3 separate regions of the Homo sapiens genome follow, and all the other regions are linked to region 3. The links are contacts of gene promoters, found by promoter capture Hi-C in human tissues and cell types (Jung and others, 2019). All regions are on one chromosome and are shown on one strand. Each heading gives the region's core, a stretch centred on a gene start or on the middle of the fragment in contact. The rest is flanking DNA. Distances are from core to core; before and after follow the strand shown. Region 1 overlaps PHF20 (PHD finger protein 20). Region 2 overlaps ACSS2 (acyl-CoA synthetase short chain family member 2). Region 3 holds the start of UQCC1 (ubiquinol-cytochrome c reductase complex assembly factor 1).

Region 1 (5,004 bases), core at 1,447-3,946, 530 kb before region 3:
TAAAAAATAAAAAGCTTTCCCATGTTGAAAATCAGAGAGCCTGGTGTTTTAGCATCCTGTCAAGAAAAATGAAAATCTATAGGGTCTTGAAAAGGTCTATTTGTATATCATAAACTCTGATTTGCTTCATATTAATTCCTGATTGATACGCAATCATCAGTGGCACAGAATACTCTGTTATTATTTTCTCCCTTTATTTATTTACTTATTTATTTATTTTTTTGAGATGGAGTCTCACTGTGTCGCCCAGGCTGGAGTGCAGTGGCGCCATCTCAGCTCACTGTAATCTCTGCCTCCTAGGTTCAAGCGATTCTCCTGCCTCAGCCTCCAAAGTAGCTGGGATTACAGGCATGTGCCACCACGCCCGGCGAATTTTTGTATTTTGGTCTCAAACTCCTGACCTCAGGTGATCCACCCACCTCGGCCTCCCAAACTGCTAGGATTACAGGCATGAGCCACTGGGCCTGGCCTTTTTTTTTCTTTTGAGACAGAGTTTCGCTCTTGTTGCCTGGGCTGGAGTACAATGGCAATGATCTCGACTCACTGCAACCTCCGCCTCCCGGGTACAGGCGATTCTCCTGCCTCAGCCTCCTGAGGAGATGGTATTACAGGCACACACCACCACGCCTGGCTAATTTTTGTTATTTTTAGTAGAGATGGGGTTTCATCATGTTGGCCAGGCTGGCCTCGAACTCCTGACCTCAGGTGATCCACCTGCCTTGGCCACTTTGAAAGTGCTAGGATTACAGGCATGAACCACCATGCAGGACCCCTTTAAATATTTAATGTAAGATTTCAGGTATTAATTAACATTATCATCATTGGTTCAATATCTAGAAAGCTGTCTTGCTTGTGAGAACAAGTATTTCTCTACAGAAAGATGTTTGTTCTTCCCTAAGCTACCCCCTAAAGCTCTGGCATTTGGGGAGAGACCATCTGGGAACCCTGCACCTTTGACAAGAACCACCCCCTGCAGGTAGCCCCTGTGCTATCCCAGCCTGCCTGTAGCCTTTCTAGTCCATGCACCAACCTGTACTGAGCACCTTCTGGACCCTGGAGTGCAGCAAAAGAAAGGCCCACCCAGTACCTCTTCATCAAGCAGCCTGCAACCTACTGCGCAATCCTCTCCTGTCCTCAGATGCAGCCCTACCTTCCTCTCCACCTTTCTAAATCCTCTGTTTCTTGTGAGCTATTCTTTAGGGAAGCCTTCCCCAACCCTATACCCTGAATCTGGTCCTTGTGTTACAGGTGCTATGATATCACATGTTCTCCTTTGAGCATTTACTATGGTTTGTCATTACAGGTAATGGGATGATTTGTTTAATATATGTCTCTCCCACTAGATCAAGTTCCACGAGGGCAAAGGCTGAGTCTGCCTTGCTTGCCACTATATCCCTAACACTCACCTGTGTCTGAAATGTGGCAAGCCTGCAACAAACACAGCGAGAGAAGGAATGTGTGGTCCAGCAAAGCGCCCTACCCATTGCTCTGGGCCCTATGTAGTTTATCCTCCTCCATCATATTTCTTGTTGGTATTTGGGGGTTCCAAGAAGGAGGAACCCTCTCTCTTCCTAATTCCAGCAAGTACAAGGACTTGGAAATAAGAAAAATAAGACCACCTCCTCAGACTTAAGCTTGAAAACCATTAGTAAAAGATCAGTCATGTGAGAGGAACTAGTGGCCTGCTGAGCAAGAAAACTGGATAGTGACCAGTTTCAAAACACCAGTAAGTCTTTAAAAAAAACTAGAAGGAGACAGGGGACTGTTCAGCAAACAGGCAGAAGAATAAATGGAGAGGCCGGACGTGCACGCCTGTAATCCCAACACCTTGGGAGGTCAAGGGAGGTGGATCACCTGAGGTCAGAAATTCAAGACAAGCCTGGCCAACATGGTGAAACCCCATCTCTATTAAAAATACAAAATCAGCCAGGTGTGGTGGCAGGCATCTGCCTGCTACTTGGGAGGCTGAGGAAGGAAGAGTCGCTTAAACCTGGGAGGCAGAGGCTTCAGTAAGCCGAGATCATGCCACTGTACTCCAGCCTGGGCGAGAAAGAGCAAGACTCCGTCTTAAAAAAATAAAATAAAATAAAAATAAATAAATGGACAAAAGGCAGTCAGGACTGGATGGGTCACTCCAACAGCAAAGAGAGTCAGTCAATCTTTTGCAAGATGATCCTACAGTTGCTGAGAGGCCCCTCTTAAGGTCACCCTAACTACCTTGGATCTAGTTCCAGGCTCACCAAAGACATCCCGATACTACGGTGGCCCAGGAGGCATGCACAGTGTGAAAGCGCACCAACGCTCAGACTGGAAGAGTCTAAGCCACTCAGTAGTGCCTGAGCTTGGTTAACAGGAGTGTGTGGAGTTCCTGAGATGGAAGCTGTCTGTCTAGGTCTGTTAGGCTGAAGAACAAAGCCAGGACTGTGGGAAGTCAACAGCATCTCCTCTGGACCCCAGCATCCAGCAGGCCACCCTCTCCATACCATGTGCTGCACCATCCCAAGTGTCTCTTTTAAAGATGCAGAACAGCTTCCAACTAGCATAGTGGTTGCTAGCAAGACAGAAGGTTACAGAGGAAAAAATTCTGTTCAAATACACTAAGATCATGTGTATAGAGACCACTGCTCACCAAGGCAACATTTTTTATTTAAGAAAATAATCTCTCTAATGCCAAAAGACTTTTTTACTTTTCATGGTCATTAAATATCCTTTGTCTTTTAGTTTTAAAGTACTGTTCAGGCTGGGTGCAGTGGCTCACACCTGTAATCCCAGCACTTTGGGAGCCCGAGGCAGGCAGATCATGAGGTCAGGAGATCGAGACCAGCCTGGCCAACATAGTGAAACCCCGTCTCTATTAAAAATACAAAAATTAGCCAGGCATGGCGGTGTGCACCTATAATCCCAGCTACTCGGGAGGCTGAAGCAGGAGAATTGCTTGAAGCCAGGAGGTGGAGGTTGTGGTGAGCCGAGATCGTGCCACTGCACTCCAGCCTGGGCAACAGACCGAGACTCCGTCTCAAAAATAAATAAATAAATAAATAAATAAAGTACTATTCATATAACTACATAAATAATTAAATAATGGCCAATTGTAAAACAATGGCATATATATATATATATTTCATATAATAGCTTACTAGGCTTTTTTTTTTTTTTTTTTAAAGAAATGGGGTCTTGCTCTGTCACCCAGGCTGGAGTACAGTGACACGATCATAGCTCACTGTAACCTTGAACTCCTTGGCCTCCCAAAGCACTGGGATTACAAGTGTGAGCCACCACGCCAGGTCAGCTTTTAAATTTTTTTAAATTTTTTATTTTCAGACTGAGTCTCACTCTGTTGCCCAGTCTGGAGTGCAGTGATATGATCTCAGCTCACTGCAACCTCCGCCTCCTAGATTCTGCTGCTTCAGCCTCCCAAGTAGCTAGGATTATACGTGTGCACCACCACACCCAGCTAAGCAGGCCGGCTTTTTAAAAAAGGAATGTTACATCCAAATTCCTATTTTAAAACTTGGTTATGAAAGCTTAGTTTAGGGCTGGGTACGGTGGCTCACGTCTATAATCCCAGCACTTTGGGAGGCCAAGGTGGGCGGATCATGAGGTCAGGAGATCGAGACCATCCTGGCTAACACAGTGAAACCCTGTCTCTACTAAAAATATAAAAAATTAGCCGGGCCTGGTGGCGGGCACCTGTAGTCCCAGCTACGCGGGAGGCTGAGGCAGGAGAATGGCGTGAACCCGGGAGGCGGAGCTTGCAGTGAGCTGAGATGGCACCACTGCACTCCAGCCCGGGCAACAGAGCGAGACTCCATCTCAAAAAAAAAAGAAAGAAAGAAAGCTTAGTTTATCTTGGTGTTTAAATAAAGAGTTGATTCCATAAAAAGGGATTTTGATTAATCTTAAATACTATGCAAAAGTCTGTTTACCTAAATAAAATCTTTAAGCTTTATCATTTATTTTAATGCTTTCTTGTTATCTCTCTCAGGGCCTAGAGTCTTAGAAATGTACAGAATATGTGGCTCTGAATTAGCAAGACACACAAGAGGTCATCTGTGAGGCCAAAGAAGGGGGTTCAGGCCTACCATCCTTGCCACACTGCCCATTCGGCAGGGCTAGAGAGGCCAAACCTGGCTGAAGAGAGGATTAAGGAAGTAAGATGTGAGTAGACTTTAACTTCTCCCTCAGGGAAGGTCCCTGTGGCAACAACCGAACATTCACCCTGTTTCCATGGTGCTAATCCTCTTTTCAGGGACTACAGAGCCACTCCTACTGCCATTCTCTCAAGAGCTACACTTTTTTGTCTAACATTATATCCTCCTTCAGCTCTCTAATAATATGTTTTTCACAGACAGTGGCATCAGTTACAATCCCTTTTTTTTAGTTTATTTTTTTAGAGACAGGGTCTGTGTTACACAGGCTGGAGTACCGTGACATAATCACAGCTCACTGCAGCCTCCAACTCCTGGGCTCAAGCAGTCCTCCCGCCTCAGCCTCCCAAGTAGCTGGGACTACACCCCTACACTTGGCTAGTTTTTTATTTTTTTGTAGAGACTGTGATGCCCAGGCTGGCCTCAAGCAATCCTCCCACCTTGACCTCCCAAAGTACTGGGATTATAGGTGTGAGCCACCACACCCAGCCTAGGTCTTGCTGTCTCTCTCACTGTCCTCCAACAGGGCAACTCTTTTTCCAGTCTAGCCAGATCATCCACCCTGAGTCCTCTCCAGTAGGAAACACCATCACTCTCCTTAAAGCTCAACTTCAGTCTCAGGAGTTTTAGGAAGCCCTCCTATTAGCACTCTCCTCCTCTGCATTGACATCAGCCACATGTGTCCCGGCCACACCTCATGGCATCACTTGTATAACAGATGGCATTTTCTCCTGAGTTATTTCATGTATGTTTTATATTCCCAGTTACAGTAAAAAATCATAGCCAGACTGTACCCAGAATCCTCAAACAACATTTCTTTTTTAACTGGGCTCCATTTTCAACATGAAAACAAATA
Region 2 (4,633 bases), core at 1,391-3,890, 530 kb after region 3:
TTACTCTAAACATGCTTGGTCTTCTCACTGTTCCAATATAAATAATTGTGGTGGCTAATATTTAAGTGCATTCAATGTGCCAGGAATTTGACATGTTTTTTTTTATCCTATTCAATCTTACAAAACTGACAACTCCATGAGATAAAAGCTATTTTTATCCACGTTTAACAGTTGAGAAAACTGAGGCTCAAAGAGGTTAAGTAACTTGCCCAAGATCAGACAGCTAATTAGTGGCAAAAATAGGACTCAAACTGGGTTAGTCTGACACCAAAACACCCATTCTCCTAATCTTTATATTATCCTGCCTCCCTATAAGGCTTTTTCCTTTCTGTGAACTATTTGTGTAAGTAGCTCTTTGCAGTTTGGCCCATAATTCTTTTCAGGCTTTTTTTTTTTTTTTTTTTTTTGATGGAGTCTTGCTCTGTTGCCCAGGCTGGAGTACATTGGCTTGATCTCGGCTCACTGCAACCTCTGTCTCCTGGGTTCAAGCAATTCTCCTGTCTCAGCCTCCCAAGTAGCTGGGATTACAGGAGTGCGCCACCACACCTGGCTATTTTTGTATTTTTAGTAGAGATGGGGTTTCGTCTTGTTGGCCAGGCTGATCTTGAACTCCTGACCTAAGGTGATCCGCCCGCCTCAGCCTCCCAAAGTGTTGGGATTACAGGCGTGAGCCACTATGCCTGGCCCAGGCTGTTTTTATGTAGATCTATTTGTTTTGTTTTATTTTGTTTTTGAGATGGAGTTTCGCTCTTGTCGCCCAGGGTGGAGTGCAATGGCACGATCTCGGCTCACTACAACCTCTGCCTCCTGGGTTCAAGCCATTCTCCTGCCTCAGCCTCCCAAGTAGCTGCAATTACAGGCACCTGCCACCACATCCAGCTGATTTTTGTATTTTTTAGTAGAGACAGGGTTTCACCATGTTGGCCAGGCTGGTCTCGAACTCCTGACCTCAGGTGATCCACCTGCCTTGGCTTCCCAAAGTGCTGGGATTACAGGCATGAGCCATTGTGCCCGGCCAATCTATTTGGTCTTTCCAAATAGAATGTAAATTCCATGAGACTAGGGTCTGGGACATTTAAACCTAATAACACATTTTATCTGGTATTTTAAAGTTAATTTAAATCAGTTTGGCTAATGTGGCTAATTTCTCTTTTTATCTGTCACAGCCAAGTGCTGGACTACTAGAATAATGAGGTAGTGTCACGAGTGAAAAAAAATAGTTGACTAGGAGTGAGAGTATCTGGAGATTAGTCTCAGTTCTGTCTTCAAACAGGTGTATGACCCTTAGGCAAATCACTTAGCTTCTTTGTCCCTTAATCTACCAATCTTTGAAGAGAGTTGGCCTAGATGGACTCTAACGGTCACTTCAAGTTCTAAAAATACTACTATTCCGTGAACATTTGCAATGTGTCAAGCCAAAAGTAAAAGGCCAAATTATTCCTTAATATGGTTCTATTTTGGATAATGGGAGTACTTTCCTAAGAGCACCATTTCCTTTGTGGATAATTTCAATGACTACACAATGTATGTTCCAAAACAAGAAACTAGCTACAAATGTGGCTTGTTAATGCCACCATAGCTGTCTAAATGACATAAAGTTAAGAAGAAAGCCATAATGTGTTTCTATAAGAAGTATATCAATTGGAGCGAATCACAGAAAAGATGTCATTTTTAAAAGCATTAGTAAGAATTAGAACAGAAAGAAGTGAGCTCCAAGAGGGAGAACTTTGGGAGGAAAAGGAGGATTTCATATGATAGTGAGATTGGAAAATATTAAATATATGATAAAGGCTTAAATAGTACAAAAAGAAAAACGGTAAGCAATTATTATTATTACTTTTATTGTTTTTTGAGACAGAGTCTTGCTCTGTCACCCAGGCTGGAGGGCAGTGGTGTGATCTTGGCTCACTGCAACCTCTGCCTCCCAGGTTCACGCGATTCTTCTGCCTCAGCCTCCCAAGTAGCTGGGACTGCAGGTGTGCACTACCATGCCCAGCTAATTTTTTTTTTGTATTTTTAGTAGAGATGAGGTTTCACTATTTTGGCCAGGCTTGTCTAGAACTCCTGACCTCAGGTGATCTGCCCGCCTCTGCTTCCCAAAGTGTTGGGATTACAGGTATAAGCCACTGCACCCAGCCCAGTAAGCAATTATTAACTTCAGAGTAAATAAAAATCCGTACATAAAAGGAAATATAACCACAGTATGCTATTCTTATGTAAACTGATTTTAAATTAACTAGAAAACAGCTATAATTATATTGAGAAGAAGAGAGAAGGAAGTTAGAGAGGTATATAAGAACTAAATTCTTATCTATCGTAGTAAGAAATCAATACTTTCTTTAAAAATGATGAAAAATAGCAGTATAAGCATATCATTTAAAAATATAGAGGCAACAAAGGGATGTAACCACATATCCGGCATATTTGCACTTTACTTTCTTATAATAAAATGCAATTTATTTGTATTTTGCTTTTGCTTTACTATAAACATAAAATAATTAAATAGTAATTGCCTATATGGTACTTGTCTCCTGCCTTTTTACCCCCATATCCATAATGCCTAATGCAGCCCTGAGTATCCAATATCTTTAACAATTCTTGTTGAGGGAGTGACCAATGTAAAAATGGAGTGAGGATGTCTTGTTTTTGAGTTACAGAATTTTGCACTGGAAGTAAATTTAGAGATTATTTAATCCAGTGCTTCCCCAGTGGGTGTTCCATGGAATACTGCTTCTTGTGATATCAATAGCATGCTGGCAAAAAGTGTTTGGGGCTTCAATAAATTCAGGAAATCCTATGTTAAACAAAATTAATCAGGTATCTCTAATATAGGACATCTTGGAGATTTTACTATGCTAATACACATTGGGAATCTCACACAAAGGCAATTTATTATGTAGTGTTTCTCAGACTCAATCATTTTATGAATTAAGAAGCCCCCTACTAATATCTCCAGTAATTAGCAGTTCCTGAAGCATTCTTTGGAAAATGCTGATCTAGTCTACTCCTCTCATTTTACAGATGGGGAAAGAGAGGCTCTCCAGAGCCTGTTCAGGTAAGGGTGGTAGGGGAACTGGTGTCTCTAGAAAGAAAGGGCCTCAGGATTCTGGAAAACTCTCCAGTGATTGAAAACTCTGGCCTGTGTATTCTGTTTTCCATTAGGCACCTGAGTTCTTTCAAACCAGGGAACAAATTCAGATACAAGCATTTCCTTTTATGATCTTTTTTTTCCTCTTTTTATTTTTCTTATTTTATTTTTATTACTATTACTTTTTGAGACAGGGTCTTGCTCTGTTGCCCAGGCTGGAGTACAGTGGTGTGATCTGTGCTCACTGCAACCTCCGCCTCCTGGGCTCAAGCAATCCTCCCACCACAGCCTTTCAAGTAGGTGGGACTACAGGCGTGCACCACCATGCCCAGCTAATTTTTGTCTTTTATGTAGAGAGGGAGTTTTGCCATGTTGCCCAGGCTGGTCTCGAACTCTTGAGCTCAAGCAATCCACCTGCCTTGGTCTCCCAAAGTGCTGGGATTACAGGCATGAGGCACCATGCCCAGCCTATTTCTTTCTTTTTTGTGAAATAGAGATGGGGGTCTCACTGTGTTGCCCAGGCTGGTCTCAAACTCCTAAGCTCAAGCAACCCTCTTGCCTCAGCCTCCCAAAGTGCTGGGATTACAGGCATGAGCCACCATGCCCGGCCTCCTTTGAAGATCTTTAAAGGTTTTCTGATCTTTAAAGAGCCTGGGAAATGAGCCCAAGTGTTGGCTGGAGCTCAAGCATAAAGCTCTAGAGCAGAAGCTAAAGAGAGTCTCAACAGACACAATGGACAGTGAATTTCAGTGACAAACTGGCCCCCAACTAAGCAATGGTAGTATAATAATAGACCACTCACACCTATACAGTGTTTTCCAATAAACAAATAAGTGCTTTTACAACGTTATCTCATTTGATTCTTACAACAATCTAGAGAGAAAAACAAGGATAGAATTATTATCCCCATTTTATGGAAGAGGAAACTGACTCTTAGTTAAATGCCTTGTCTGTGGTTATATAACATGTTAATGGCAGAGTTGAAAGGAGAACCTAAATTTCTTGTCTCTCAGGTTAAGGCTCTTCTCAATATATCACACAAACTGGGCAAAGATATTGAGTGAGTTTCAATTTAACTCTCCCATGAAGCATCCAAGCTGCTCCTATTGGCTAGCTTAAATAATTAATCAGGCCAGACATGGTGGCTCACACTAATCCCAGCACTTTGGGAGGCCAAGACAGGTGGATCGCTTGAGTTCAGGAGTTTGAGAACAGCCTGGGCAACATGGTGAAACCCCATCATTACAAAAAATACTAAATACAAAATACAAAAATTAGCCAAACGTGGTGGTGCATGTCTGTAGTCCCACCTACTCAGGAGGCTGAGGTGGCAGGATTGCTTGAGCAGGGGAGGCAGGGCAGAGGTTGCAGTAAGCCAAGATCATGCCGCTGCTCTCCAGGCTGGGCAACAGAGCAAGATCCTGTCTCCAAAAAAACAAAACAAAACAAAACAATACAAAAACAATAGATCAACTCTGAGTGCTCATAGATTGTGGCAGAAGCAACACCCCAATTATTGGAATTTCTAAGTCCTATTTGGATTCG
Region 3 (4,538 bases), core at 1,785-4,284:
CAGGCTGCAGTGAGCTGGGATTGTGTCACTGCACTCCACCCTGGGCGGCAGAGCAAGACTCTGTCTCAAAAAAAAAAAAAAGTGATTTATATATATAATGGAATGCTATTCAGCCTAAAAGAAGAAGGAAATGCTGGCCAGGTGCGGTGGCTCACACCTGTAATCCCAACACTTTGGGAAGCCAAGGTGGGCAGATCACCTGAGGTCGGGAGCTCAAGACCAGCCTGACCAACATGGAGAAACCCCATCTCTACTAAAAATAAAAATTAGCTGGGTGTGGTGGCACATGCCTGTAGTCCAGGCTACTTGGGAGGCTGAGGCAGGAGAATTGCTTGAACCCGGGAGGGAGAGGTTGCAGTGAGCCAAGATTGTGCCACTGCACTCCAGCCTGGGCAACAAGAGCAAGACTCTGTCTCAAGGAAAAAAAAAAGAAGGAAATGCTCATATCTATGACAACATGGATGAACTGGGAGGATGTTATGTTAAGAGAAATAAATGAGGCACAGAAAGACAAACACTGCTTGATTTCTCTCATATGTGGAATATAAGTTGAACACACAGAAGTAGAGAGTAGAATGGTGGTTACTAGAGGCTGAGGAGATGTTTGTCAAAGGATACAAAATTTCAGTTAAGAGAGATAAGTTCAGGAGGCCACTTTGGGAGGCCAAGGCAGGCGGATCACCTGAGGTCGGGAGTTCGAGACCAGCCTGACCAACATGGAGAAACCCCGTCTCTACTAAAATATAATATTAGCTGGGCGTGGTGGCGCATGCCTGTAATCCCAGCTACTCAGGAGGCTGAGGCAGGAGAATCACTTGAACCCGGGAGGCAGAGGTTGCAGTGAGCCAAGATCACGCCATTGCGCTCCAGCCTGGGCAACAAGAGTGAAACTCCGTCTCAAAAAAAAAAAGAAAAGATCTATTGTATAACATGGTGACTATACCCACTATGAATATGTATTGTATTCTTGAAAATTGCTTAAAGAACATATTTTAAACATTTCCAGCACAAAAATATGAGGTAATGCATATATTAATTAGCTTGACTTAGCCATTTCACAATGTATACATATTTTAAAACATCCTGGCCGGGGGCACGGTGGCTCACTCTTGTAATCCCAGCACTTTCGGAGGCCGATGTGGGTGGATCACCTGAGGTTAGGAGTTTGAGACCGTCCTAGCCGAAATGGCAAAACCCCGTCTCTACTGAAAACACAAAAATTAGCCAGGCGTGGTGGTGCGCATCTGTAATCCCAGCTACTTGGGAGTCTGAGGCAGGAGAATCGCTTGACTTGGGAGGTGGAGGTTGCAGTGAGCCGAGATTGAGCCACTGCACTCCAGCCTGGGCGACAAGAGTGAAACTCTGTCTCAAAAAAAAAAAAAAAAAGAAAAAAGAAAACATCCTGTTGTACACAATATATATTTTTTGTCAATTAATAAAAATCAATAAATTTAATTAAAAAAATAGTCGAGTGAAGTTATTTCCCATGACTAGCTCCTCTTCTTCCTTTAGATTTCATCTTACATGTCACTTTCTTGGAGAGGCCTTACCAACCTAACCAAAGTAGCTCCCCAGTTTTAATTTTTTTCACTGGGTTCCTATGCCTCCCCCACCAGTCTAAGAACTCCATGAAGCCAGTATGTCTTGTGTTCAGCACATAGGGAAGACTCAATAGGTCTTTGTTGACTGAATGAAATGAAAGAAGTCCTTCAACATCCTGCCCCTCTGCTCCCTCAACCCCCAAAGCACCAGTACTTTGTCTTCTCTTCTCTTGGGATGTAATGGAAGAGGAGTCTTCTACCAAGGCCGTTCTCTGCCACTTTCCTCAAGAAGCTCCTTGCCTCTTTGATTGATTCTCCTGTATACTCTTTTTTTTTTTTTTTTTTTGAGACGGAGTCTCGCTTTGTCACCCAGGCTGGAGTTCAGTGCCCCAGTCTCAGCTCACTGCAACCTCTGCCTCCCGGGTTCAAGCGATTCCCTGCCTCAGCCTCCCAAGTAGCTGGGATTACAGGCACACGCCACCATGCCCGGCTAATTTTTTTCGTATTTTCAGTAGAGACGGGGTTTCACCATATTGGTCAGGCTGGTCTTGAACTCCTGACCTCAGGCAATCCACCTGCCTCGGCCTCCCAAAGTGTTGGGATTACAGGCATGAGCCACCGGGCACGGCCCTGTATACTCTTCACTAATCTTTTCCTATCAATATGCAAAGATGTTTCCCTTAAACAACCAACCAACCACAAATCCCAAAAGTTTCTTCCTCTACCAGGCTTCAGATCGGCACATGACCGCCTTCTTGCCTTGACTTTCAGGAGTCTGGTATCCCCCGTATTCTTTTATCTTAGCCTCCTTCTCTGGCTTTTTTTTTTTTTTTTTTTTTTTTTTTTTTGAGACAGAGTCCAGTCCTGCTCTGTCGCCCAGGCTGGAGTGCAGTGGCGCGATCTCGGCTCACTGCAACCTCTGCCTTCAGAGTAGCTGGGATTACAGGCACACACCAACATGCCCGGCTACTTTCTTTGTATTTTTAGTTAGGGACGGGGTTTTGCCATGTTGGCCAGGCTAGTCTCGAACTCCTGATCTCAGGTGATCCGCCCGCCTCGGCCTCCCAAAGTGCTGGGATTACAGGCGTGAGCCACCGCGCCCGGTCTTCTGGCTCTTTCTAAAGATTGGGATTTCCTAAAGTCCTGTTCTTTTCAACCTCCATTGAAAAGTGTTGGGGTGGAGTTTGGGAAGGAGGGGCTGAGGAGTGAGGCTGGGTTAGGTGGGGAATAAAGAGAGGGATATGAGAAGCCCCGAGGTCTGGGGTCAAGGAGACAGGCGTGGGGGAAGGATTTGAACCACTGTTACGTGTAGTGGGGGAGACAGCAGGGAGAGCGTGCCCGGGCACGACAGCCTGGTGCACAGCCGAGAAAACAACAGCGCGTGCGCGTAGCGACCTCTTTGCGCCTGCGCCCCCCTTGCCAGTCTTTCGCCGGCAAAAGGAGGACGTAGAAAAGGGGACACCGGAAACTCACTCTTCACCCGGAAATGGTTATTGAGGAACATGGCGTTGCTGGTGCGAGTCCTTGTGAGTGAAGGAGTAATTTTCTACGGTAGCTCTCTGGGTCCCGGGTTGGAGTTCGACAAGGCAGGGCGGGAGGAATTGGAAGGAATCGCAGGAGGGAAGCCTGTGTTATAGCTAGGCTGAGTGGCCGCTTTTCCGTGGGGAAACTGAGGCAGCTTCCGACCTCTTCCTACCCCGTTTTGACCTTAGCTCCCCCATCTTTCGAGAAGGGGAAGACTGACATCTGGCCTTTATTTGATGGGGTTTACTTTTCCTTCCCTCCCCCATGTACCTGCTTCCCCTCAGGGAGAGGAGCATGTAGGACACTGATTGGAGTTTCAGGAGGCCTGGGTTCTAGTCCCTGACTGTCACTGATGCATAGTGACTTTAAGCAAGTCACTTTTGGGCCTCATTGACCCTATGTGAAAAACGAGGACATTTATCTCCTGCAGTCCCTTTAGATTCTGAGATTCTCAGGGTTTCTTTCATAGGTAATAAGTCAGTTCTTAACTGTACAGTTAAGTGGAATATAGATTATTAGATTGAAAGCTGCGTGAGAATTGGAGTCATGTCTGTCTCCGTCGTTTTCACTTTGCCTAGCATGGTGTCTGGCACATCATAGGTGTTAAATGATTACTTGTTGAATAAATGAATGAAGTAAGGAAAGACTACCAGACTCTTTAGCACCCGTGTGTGAAACTACTGCACCTCTTGAGATTTAGTCCTGACCCTTCTAGCATACTCTTTTCTCTAGCAATTAAAGGAGAAAAGAAAGTGGCAGCAGAAAAAACGTTAGGATACAGAGCTTAGTTTTTAATCATGGAGGGATGGGAGAGTGTATAGTTTTAGCGAGTCTTCAAAAACTGGGTCAAAGACACTGTTTTTCATAGTAGACATGGTCTATTCCTGTGTCTAGGTAACTTCTGAATTGTTATTTTACATTTGTGTTTTTGATCTTTTTATATATGTCTTACAAGGACGACAGTTTTACTTCTTGTATTCCTTGCCAGCCTAGCAGAGTGAGGTACCCTCGACTGCTGTTCAGTAAATATTTATTTGTAGAGTAGCCCCTGTAACTGCCAGAAAGATTCACCTGGTGAAGTGATTGTTTGATTTCAGGCCAGAAATTGATTCAGAAATGAGGACTGCTGGGGAAATGGCAATTAGAATGTTCTGAATTTAGTGGTTTTTTTTTTTTTTTTTTTTTTAATCCTTCCCCTGCCACCCTTTAGGGTTTTGTTTTTTTTTTTTTTTTTTTTGAGGCAGAGTCTTGCTCTGTCGCCGAAGCTGGAGTGCAGTGGTGCCATCTCGGGCTCACTGCAACTTCTGCTCCCGGGTTCAAGCAATTCTCCTGTGCCAGCCTCCCGAGTAGCTGGGATGACAGGCATGCACCACACCACACCTGACTAATTTTTGTATTTTTTTTTTTTTTGAGATGGAGTCTCGCTCTGTCACCCAGGGTGGAGTTCAGCGGTGTGATCTCGGCTCACTGCAA

What was found. Contacts are between HindIII fragments. The study calls those that stand out against the background at their distance.
Region 1: a fragment that was not itself captured here is called in contact with the fragment with the promoter of UQCC1 in region 3 in 2 of the 25 tissues and cell types used here (dorsolateral prefrontal cortex and psoas muscle).
Region 2: a contact is called between a fragment that was not itself captured here and the fragment with the promoter of UQCC1 in region 3, in 1 of the 25 tissues and cell types used here (IMR-90 fibroblasts).

The regions. Positions count from the first base shown.
Region 1 is chr20:35,941,653-35,946,656 of GRCh38, reverse strand. The region is part of intron 17 of PHF20 (PHD finger protein 20); the gene reads right to left. Among named protein-coding and RNA genes, the nearest start is that of SCAND1, 10 kb to the left of the region's middle. The HindIII fragment of the contact is 3,743 bases long and covers 825-4,567 here.
Region 2 is chr20:34,883,842-34,888,474 of GRCh38, reverse strand. The region is part of intron 2 of ACSS2 (acyl-CoA synthetase short chain family member 2); the gene reads right to left. Among named protein-coding and RNA genes, the nearest start is that of ACSS2, 9.5 kb to the right of the region's middle. The HindIII fragment of the contact is 9,492 bases long and covers 1-4,633 here.
Region 3 is chr20:35,410,469-35,415,006 of GRCh38, reverse strand. UQCC1 (ubiquinol-cytochrome c reductase complex assembly factor 1) reads left to right here and starts at 3,034. Exons shown (of 10, transcript NM_018244.5): 1 at 3,034-3,067. The coding sequence starts at 3,044. RefSeq lists enhancers at 2,799-2,848, 2,056-2,878, 2,979-3,128, 3,189-3,288, 2,879-3,702. The HindIII fragment of the contact is 20,339 bases long and covers 1-4,538 here.